Regions from separate parts of the Homo sapiens genome. Here region 1 is linked to region 2. Evidence: promoter capture Hi-C in 16 types of primary human blood cells and fetal thymus (Javierre and others, 2016). All regions are on one chromosome and are shown on one strand. The core of a region is centred on a gene start or on the middle of the fragment in contact, and the rest is flanking DNA. Distances in the headings are between cores, read along the strand shown.

What was found. The method cuts DNA at HindIII sites, captures the fragments that hold promoters and counts their contacts. A CHiCAGO score of 5 or more calls a contact.
Region 1: a fragment that was not itself captured here is called in contact with the fragment with the promoter of GXYLT1 in region 2 in 1 of 17 cell types (megakaryocytes); the score reaches 6.4 in megakaryocytes.

Annotation. Positions count from the first base shown.
Region 1 is chr12:41,258,413-41,263,465 of GRCh38, forward strand. All of the region lies in intron 3 of PDZRN4 (PDZ domain containing ring finger 4), which reads left to right. Among named protein-coding and RNA genes, the nearest start is that of PDZRN4, 73 kb to the left of the region's middle. The HindIII fragment of the contact is 1,950 bases long and covers 2,006-3,955 here.
Region 2 is chr12:42,141,849-42,146,762 of GRCh38, forward strand. It overlaps GXYLT1 (glucoside xylosyltransferase 1), which reads right to left and starts at 3,026. Exons shown (of 8, transcript NM_173601.2): 1 at 2,578-3,026. The coding sequence starts at 2,798. RefSeq lists silencers at 2,414-2,643, 2,724-3,223 and an enhancer at 3,384-3,453. The HindIII fragment of the contact is 13,899 bases long and covers 1-4,914 here.

The DNA.
Region 1 (5,053 bases), core at 1,731-4,230, 880 kb before region 2:
ATGCTTTATTTTACACATAATCTGGAGTAAGAGTCATTGGTGATAGAAGTCATGTTTGTATAGATTAGCTTTAAGAAATCTTTTCTGTCCCCTATTAAAAGAAAAGGGGGTAAAAAGCAACTATTCTGTCATAAATATCATTTTAAACCATAAAATACATGATGAAAATACAAAGACTACTCTCTTAAAATTAAGTACCAAAAACGTGAAACTACATATAATTTATGTATTCCACAAATATTTATTGAGTGCATACTATTTGCTTGTACACTATTCTAGTGCTAGGGATGTAGTGATGAACAAACACCAAATTCCTTGCTCTTATGGGGTTTATATTCTATTAGGAGAGATGATCAATAAATAAATAAGCTAAGAGATATGTCAGGTGGTAACACATACCCAAAGGATAAAGCAAGATAAGGGAAAAAGGGAATGATGGAGGTGCTGTCTGATTAATGTTATGAGTAGTGATGATGATGATGGAGATGGTAAATACAGACTTTAGCTCATTTTTTGGCTTTTATGTTGGTAAAGACACTAGTAAGTAGTACATGGCGGGGGGGCACTACAATTCATTAACACTCTCCTTTATCATAGGTTGAAGCATCAATTTTGAAAACAATTGCATGCATTTAGAAATTAACCTGCATTTAAATACACACATAAAAGACACGGGAAGCAAACTTACCAAAAGTATAATGGATAATAATGGCTATCGTTGGCTGATTTTTATTTTCATGTGTATATTATAAGCATTTTCAACTGGTCCTATGATGCATAATTTTATAGTAACAATAACATTAAATATTTTCATATTTAGCCTATTGAGGAGAAAAGACAGAGTGGAAAGGGAAAGACAGGAGAAAATAAAGAAGAGTCAGAGAGACACTCATAAAAATAGACATGAAAATACAAATACATAGAAAGAAACCGTTCATATTAAGAAAAAGATGCAGAGTGAGGGACATGCTTACGTATTTGCTCACACAATATCACCATGTTATAGCCTTTTAAAAACAGTCACTGAATATTGTAATACTGCATTTTAACAAAACTAGCATGTCAAGAAACACTGGTACTTGAAAGTGTTTATTTGTGTTGGATGAAATTAGACTGAGGGTTGGATCTGCTCCTTATGGTAGAATTAAGTCAGTACCTGCTTAGGCTCTCAGATGACCTTTGTTGCAGACTATAACCACATCTGTGGACAAAGACTTCAAGACACAAGAGAAACAAGTCTGAAAACTATGTTAAGCATTTAAAATAAAAATAAAATCTTAAAAAAATATGAGTATATTGGCCGGACTGATTACTTTGCATCATGTAATTAGTTCACAAATGAGTTTAGTCTAGAGGGCTACTTTTAAGCTAATCAGCTTAGTTTTAGCCCTCTCTTTTAGATATCTTCATTGGTAACTATTTCACTTACTAGGATTATAAATTCTATTTATTTTGCAAGCAAATCTATAGAAATCGAAGTGTCAGTTACAGATGTCTTTTTCATCTATATTTCTGATAAGAGAGAATGCTGACCTTGAAGGAACAGCTTAGAATCATACTAGGACATTTTCTACTTTATTTTAGAATACTGTTGGCAAACTTATTTGTTTGGAGTATCTGGAAGCAATCTTTGGAATTGTTTTGTATTAGGTTAATGAAAATAATCTAATGCATTTTCTATCAAAAATACTGAAAGCAATTAAATTCACATTTCAAAAGTAAGATCTTTCAGATTGTTCTTTCTTTTGGCCAATTCTTTGGATCATATTTTTAGAAAGATTTCCTTTTCATGTGTTTTACTTTTTATTTTTTGACTTACGTATTAGGATAGGAACAACAATACTTCATTCATCCTATTTTCTAGCAGCATTTTTGTATAGTTTCCCTAACATAACAGCAGAGATGTGTGGAGTGGGGAGTGTCCACTAAACAAAGGGTATGAGAAGTGCCATCTTTTGTGGGTGGTCTCTGATTAAACAAGCAGTACAATTGAGTGGAATTGTGAAGCTTTATTTTATTTCGAAACTAAAATAAACTAAGGGCTTAAAGAAATTCAGAATGTAGCATATGTAAGTTATGACCCCAATTATACATGAGTTAATATAAAATTATATTTTTTACATAACAGCATTATGAAACTAAGGTTGCCTTATTTAAGTATTAGTAAAGACACATTTCTTAATATTAAAAATATTATTTGCTACATTTTCAGCAAATAAGAAAGAAAAGTTAATGTTTTATTAGTTCCATCAAAATACTTAACTGATGGTCTGTTGTGCCCACTATGAGTCTAGATAAGGTGATGCTATTATATATTTTAAAGTCAGTAATAAGAATCTTATATAAACTTGTGTACAATTGAAGTCATAATTTGGATTTTCTATAGTCTGCACTTCCTTAGTTTCATCCACAGAGAAACATTAACATTTCTCATACTTGAAATATCCCTGACAGAAAATAACGAGCTTCTAACCCCGTGGTTCTGCTGATTTTCTACAATATCACCCCCCGTAGTCAAGATAGTTTTAAATCTTGTGTTTTATGGAAATCAAATTCCATGATTTATCTCTCCCTTTTAATTAGAAAAAAACATGTTTCTATTAATTGAGTTAAATTGGTGATGCAGAAAGATGCACTATATTTATTATGTTGCCTCATAAATTCCATAGCACATCCCAGTTTTAAAAGACATAGGATTCTCTGTCCTCTTGGTTTATTAGGGATATGCAAATTTTCTAGGGGTTCAGGAATTCCCTAGAGTTTCTCATCCTAATTTGTATCAATTTTTATTAGAAAAAAAAAACTACCTTTCGTTGCATTTCGAAAAACGTATTCAGAATATTTGTGAAGAATGTAAACTGTAGTATTTAGTAGGAGGCAGTTACAAATTTCTTTAAAATATACCTAAGGGAAAATGTGTAAGCCCCATTCCATGTGGATTATTTGTTAGAAATCTAATAACTTGTGATAGATGAGTTCTGCTTCATCAGAAGTTGAAGGCTTAATCAAGATTTAGCAATTAAAGAAATTAGATTTCATTCTTTCACAAAGGCAAAGTAGTTCTATTTCTCTGTTTGTTTGTTTTCTTATTTTTTGAGATGGAGTCTCGCTCTATCGCCCAGGCTGGAGTGCCGTGGCGCGATCTCGGCTCACTGCAAGCTCTGCCTCCCGGGTTCACGCCATTCTCCTGCCTCAGCCTCTCGAGTAGCTGGGACTACAGGCGTGCACCACCTCGCCCAGCTAATATTTTGTATTTTTAGTAGAGACAGGGTTTCACCGTGTTAGCCAGGATGGTCTCGATCTCCTGACCTCGTGATCCCCCCTCCTCGGCCTCCCAAAATGCTAGGATTACAGGCGTGAGCCACCGTGCCCGGCCTCAAATAGTTCTATTTCTCTTTTTATTGTTTTGAAATCTCTTCAGTTCTACCAAATCCAGCAATTTACAATGAAGTGTAATGTAAGAAAGAGGAACGCATTCTTATGCTGGCAGATCCATGCCAGAGAACATGGGATGGGGAGAATAGTATCTGTGGTGGTGGGCAAGAATGGGAAGGGTACAGAATGGGCAGCCTGAAGTCCTGAAGATGGGCTCACTGGCTCCCCATTAAACTCTGGACATTTGTCCGGTGATTGCAATTTCTCTTCCAATCTTCATCCTTCCATTGCCTCCCCCGTGATTCCATTTGTACTCCTTCATGCCTCCCAGATGACTGGTCCAGTTCCCTAAATTAGCGTCTTCTCCAAAACGAGGACTTCTGGAACTCTTTTTCCATTTCCCAGTGGTGCTGATTGATGATACAGTGCTGTAACATTCATTATAGTTTTGCCTGCTGAAAGACCATGACCACAATCTGTCTACGGCCATGCACTGAGATAAGCAGTCACCTATGTGTCCACAACGTTCACTTGCTGGCCCTTGTCTGATGTGTTATCATACATTTGGTTCTGTTTAAGAAGCTTCTGTTGAGTGTCTTCATAAAATGGAATGCCCGTGGCCTGAGTATGCAAAAATGAGTAAGTCAAGGTTTGTGATTTTTAGAAACTTTCAAGTAAGTGAGGGAGCTGGAAAAAAATTCAGTTATTTTGTAATGTGTAATTCTTATAATAATTTCTTATGCAATAGCATCAGTATGGTTGTAGAGGTACAGACTAAAAGATACAAAGATACAACTTCCATTGAAGACATAGAATTTGTGATGATATTTGAAGGAAGATTGGATTTTGAAAGGGTGAAATTGCTATTGGTTAATAAACACCATTAAGTAAAACTATAGAAGTGATCACTGACAGAGAAAACTCAAGGGGAAACTAGTCATGAGCTGAATACTGTTTGTTTAGATATGCTAGATAATTTTAATAGTGAAATATCATTTTAGATGGATTCTATGTAAAATTATTAGAAGGTAAATGTAGATCACTAGAGCAAGATAAGATGTCGGCGTTTCTAGAATTCAATTGAAGACAAATCTTAAAGATTAATAGGTCAGTCAATTAAGTTACCATTTTTAGCCTGATTTTTTAAGTAGGGATAAAAAATACTGTATATATGTATATATATATAAAATATATCTCACTAACTAAACCACATAGTATATACTATTTAATAAAATTTACATGGTATAGATTACCTCATGCTTAAGGTAACTTCAGTGATTCCTCGAAATTATTACTGATTCCTTTAGTGAAGTCTCAAAGCAAAAATAATGTGTGTGTGTGTGTACACACACGTACATGTATCAATGAGACATATAAAATGAATTAGTCATGCTGATACCTTTTTTTGGTGGTGGTGGGGGAATGTACTGATAAAGCCTTTTTATCAAAATGTATCTTGTATTCACTTAAAGAAAATGAAAATAGTTGGGCGCGGTTGCTCATGCCTGTAATCCCAGCACTTTGGGTGGCCGAGGTGGGCGGATTGCTTGAGGTCAGGAGTTCAAGACCAGCCTGGCCAATATGGTGAAACCCCGCCTCTACTAAAAATACAAAAATTAGCCAGCATGGTGTTGCATGCCTGTAATCCCAGCACTTTGGGTGGCCAAGGCGGGAGGAT
Region 2 (4,914 bases), core at 1,776-4,275:
CTTCAAACAGAATACACTAACGGATAAGAGATTCCACTGAAAAACTGTTCCTTTCATTTTAAAGTTCTTACTTCAAGGACTCCAAGTCTTTTGTCGTCATGAAATTCTATACCATGAATAGTTTTTATAAGATCTGACCAATGGAACTTACTGGGTACAAACCTAGATCCCGTGTTTAAAATAAAAAGAGAGAAATAGTTATAATCTTTCAAGTAAGATGTTATCAAAAAAGGCAAAAATGCAATAATACCTAAGTACTACTGAAAAGAGGAAGCTGCTGGCTTGCCCCATAGCCCCATTGCCCACTGAGTCCACTATCTAAACTAGACCCTTATCTTTCTTTACAGAAAGAGCTCTTGTATAACACTCCAAGGATACAGTTTCTAATCCTCCTCCAACACTGATTTGCTTTGGATCTTGGCCAAATGATTTATACATGAAGAGGTTAGGGATTTCTATACCGTATCTCATGGTGGCCAAAAAAGTTAATTTTTTTTTTTTTTTTTGAGACAGGATCTTGCTCTGTCACCCAGGTTGGATTACACTGGTGCAATCATAGCTCACTGTAGCCTTGAACTCCTGGGCTCAAGTGATCCTCCCACCTTAGCCTCCCAAAGTGCTGGGATTACAGGTGTGAAACACCACATTCAGTTAATTTTTTTTTAATTTTTTTATTTTTTGTAAAGATGGGTTGTTGACGAGGCTGGTGTCAAACTCCTGGCCTCCAGCAATCAATCATCCCCACTCAGCCTCCCCAAATTCTGGGATTACAGGCGTGAGCTACCGAGCGTTGCCAAAAGTTGATTTAATTCTATGACATTTCTATAAAGATGTTATAAATGACGATATACAAAATAGAGTCCTGAGGTCTTAGTAATTTGCGTGATCTTAATCTAACCATAGAGTAAAACTTCACAATCCAACTTTTCCACGTTGTTCCCCTGCCCAAATGGTTTCTTATGCGCGCAAATGTGGTGACATGCTGTTCTTCATCACATTTTTACAAAGAGAGATAAATACACCTATAGTTCTAACTTAGATGTACGCCTCATTTAAAATAAAGAGTAATGCTACTCAAAGGACCTAAAAAAGTACAGTATTTCGGTTGACTCAATCCTGACACATAAAACTTAACGTTTCAGTAATGATTATATTGGATGTTTATTAAAACTGAGGCTATTTTCGAAAATTTCAAATAATTTTATTAAAATTAGCTGGTCAAGCAAACAAAATTTGTAAATTTCTGTCACAAAATAAAATATCTAAGACCAAGGCACTAAAAATGTGATGTTAACATCAGTCTAATTTCATTCAATATTTAATTAAAATGTTGCTTCCTTACAATTCTACCCCATATAAAAATAATTCCTTTTCCATAATTGCAAATGCTTCACAATAACATACTAGGCCATAAACAGTTTAGCTTCAACCTGTCATTTTTCACGAGCTCATTCAAGTCTTCAGTGACTGCTTTCTCCCAGGACAGACAACTGAGGGTCCTGATGTAGGAATTACCCTGACTGTAATCAAATCTCAGGGTAAAAACATGACAAGTCCGCTTTCCACGCTGCTCCTCTGCCCAAACTTTCCCCTTTCATTCTGGGAATGACCATCGACTCTCAAAATGATGTTAAACAACAGCCCACAACTGATCTATACTCCCTCTTCCGACAAACCCTATACTTCTCTATATCAAAGCAGCATTTGCCAAGTCTTGGTAGGGAGCACTTCAGGTCATTCCCAGAGAGATGCCCATACATAAGGTGGAAGTGTCCATGTTGCAAGGCAGTGCAAACGCTCAGATTTCAAGCATTCATAATGCGTTGACAGAAACATTTTTTTTCTATTTAAATCTCATGTTGATTCCCACTCTGGCAGTGATTACGTCCTAAGTCATTACGTCGCTTTTTAAATACCAATTTGTCAAGAAAGGTAACTCCATCCCATCCAACAACAGACTTGAGCACGCCAAGTATCGCTCATTTTTCTTAATTTGCTCTAAGTTTCTTAATAAACTGAGTGTTTCCAAAAGAAAATTTCACAACCCGCACAAATGCCATTTCCAAATTTAACTAACCATGGCTAATACTTAGAAGTGTAAGCGTTAACACAGGAAAATCAGCATGAGGGACAAAATACACACACATATACACTCACACACACACACACAATCCTTAAACACTGAACTAGGGCGCCAGCCTCATGTTTAAATATCTCAACTTGAACTCCACTGAAACAAGAGGAAATTCTCACTAGCCAGGCAGCAGTAAGGCTTTTGTGGACACCTCTTATTTTCAAAGAACCCTCTTTTTAAAAAGTTGAAAATTAATTTCTAACTGCTTTAAAGGGCGCATGACTGGGTCAAAAGATAAACACAGAAAGTGTAGGACACTCTCAGGCGGGAGCAGCGCAGGTTTAGCCCCGGCCGGAGGGGAAGGAGGGAAATGAGTGAGGGGTCAGAGACAGGAGGAAAGACGCGGGAGACGCGGCACCCACCGGCGAGCAGCCCGGGCTAGGCCGAGCCCGCGCCCAGCGCCCCGCGCCCGCCGCGTCCCCCACACCGGGAACTGCCCGTACCTGTCCGACACGCCGGGATGCGCTGCGGGGCCCGCGACGCCGGCGCCTCTCACGGCGCCGCGTCCGCCGCCCGCGAGCCAGGAAGCCACCGCGGCCTGCGGCTTCCCGCCACCGCCGCCCGTTCCTTCTTCCAGGGACACGGCGAGCTGGCTGAAAGCGTAAAGGAGCGAGCAGAAGCCGCAGGCCACACACAGCACCACGACGCGCAGGTAGCGCCGCATCGCCCCGGCCGCGCTCCTCCTTCGCCGCCGCCGCCGCGCCCGCCCCGACGAACTGGAGCGGAGGGAGGGGCACCGCGCAGCCGCGGGCGCAACAAGTTCCTCACCCGCAGCCGCCGCCGCCGCCTTGCGCCCGCTCCCTTCCTTCCCTCCCCGCCCACCACCTAGGCGAGCGCAGTCGCGGCTCCGGAGCCGAAGGACTACCCGCCCGGAAGCCTGGACACCGCCTCTGCCGCCGCGCGCTCAAGGGTCAGCGGCAGCGACGCAACCCCGCCCCTCCCCCGGGCGGGAGGGCTGGACGCGCCGGCGCAGTTCGCGTGGGAGGGACGCAGGGCTGGCGCGCAGAGGGTGGTGTGAGTGCGCGGAACGCGGCGCGCCTGAGGGCTATAGCTAGCGCAGGCCGACGCGCAGGTGAATGGGAGCCCTGTGGGTCTCGACCGCCGAGAGAGGGGGAGCGAAAGCCTCAGGGCTCTGGAGGCAGTTGACCTAAATTCTAATTATGGTCCTTCCACATGGTAGTTTGTGACATTGGGCAACCTAAATTCTCTGAGCATGTTTCTTCGTCCCTAAAATGGAGCTACTATCCTCATCATGGGGTGGTTGTAAAGATTAAACTGTTTAACGCTCGAAAACCGCCTAACACTTAGAAGACACTTGACTAGGCCAGTTTCCTCTCCATCCTCCCCCAGCCTCTAAGTTTCTGTGATACTATAATGTGCACGAGCCATTTTCACCCCGATAAGCTCATTGCTTCGTGTGTTTGGTATGCGGACCTTACCTCTTGCCTCCCAGCAGACAGTGAGTTCCTGTAAGGCAGGGCTCTTCCCTTTGACCTTTTTGACCTCCCTCACAACTCATTATTTTCATGTGCAAAACAATTAGTATTCTCTCCACAGAGCTTCTTTCTTCCCCAGTTCTTCTCCCTCTTCTTCTGTGTTTCCACTACGTTCATTCATTGACCATTTATAAAGCATCACTTGTGCCAAGCTCTGTGTGAGTACCTAGGGGTATAAAGAGGCCTAAGTGGAGCGTGGGTGGGACAGCGGATACTTGTAAATAAGCGCAACGCAGTGATAACAGACTTAAGATCCAGGCCTGTAAGGGTGTGGGCATACACACAAAGGAACAATCAGTTCTATCTGTGAGTATGGTCAAGAGAGACTTCATAGCAAAGGTGGCGCTAGAGTCTTGAGTCGGGTAAGGGAAGTAATTCCAGGCTGAAGGATCAATAAACAGGCTCTTGTGTAGGGAACTGTTGAGAAGTTTGATACCACCAGCTAAGTGAATGCAAGAGAGGGTATGATGAGCGATAAGCGCGTAGAAGGGGCCAGATATTTGAGTGCTTTGTTTAGCACACCAAGGAGTTTGAATTTAATCTGCAAGACATTAGTGAACCATTGAAGGGTTTTTAAATAGGGAAGTAACATGATCACAATTGCATTTTAGAGAGCAGATTCTGGCTGTAGTGTGGAGGCTGAAACAGAGAGAGGAGAGATTGGAGGCAGAAAGCAGCACCAGTGCCAAAAAGTGAGGGAAGGGATACTTAAAAATACACACACACACGAACACACATTCATGGGGAAAAATCATGCGTTTAACTGCTGAAATTGCATCTGGGGCGTTGAAAAGTTTGGCCATGAGATACAAGGTGGGGAAATGCTGCGCAAAATAGTAGCAGTCTCCATTTGGATCCTTGGCTCCCTATACCAAAAAAGTAGTGGTTCTGTGACCATGATAAAGTCACTAAACAAATTTAAGGTTCAACTTCCTCCCCTTCTTGCTTTACCTGATAAAAAATGAACATTAGCATGCTATCAAGATGTGTAAAGAGAATGAGAACATACATTTATGCATTCAATAAACATTTATTGAACATATTCTACATGCCAGACAAGGGGCTCTGATGCAGAGTATTCAGAAATAAAAGGAGTGTACTGCTCTCAAAGGGAAAACAGGCAAATAGAAACCACAAGTATACTAAATTAATACTTCCACTACACCTTACACTTCTTAGAGAAATGAAGATAAACTTAACGAAGTATCCAGAATGATAGGAAAAGCATTGATAAGAATGAAAATACCTTTTGAGAGAAAGCTGAAAGATATGGTACCAAGAAAC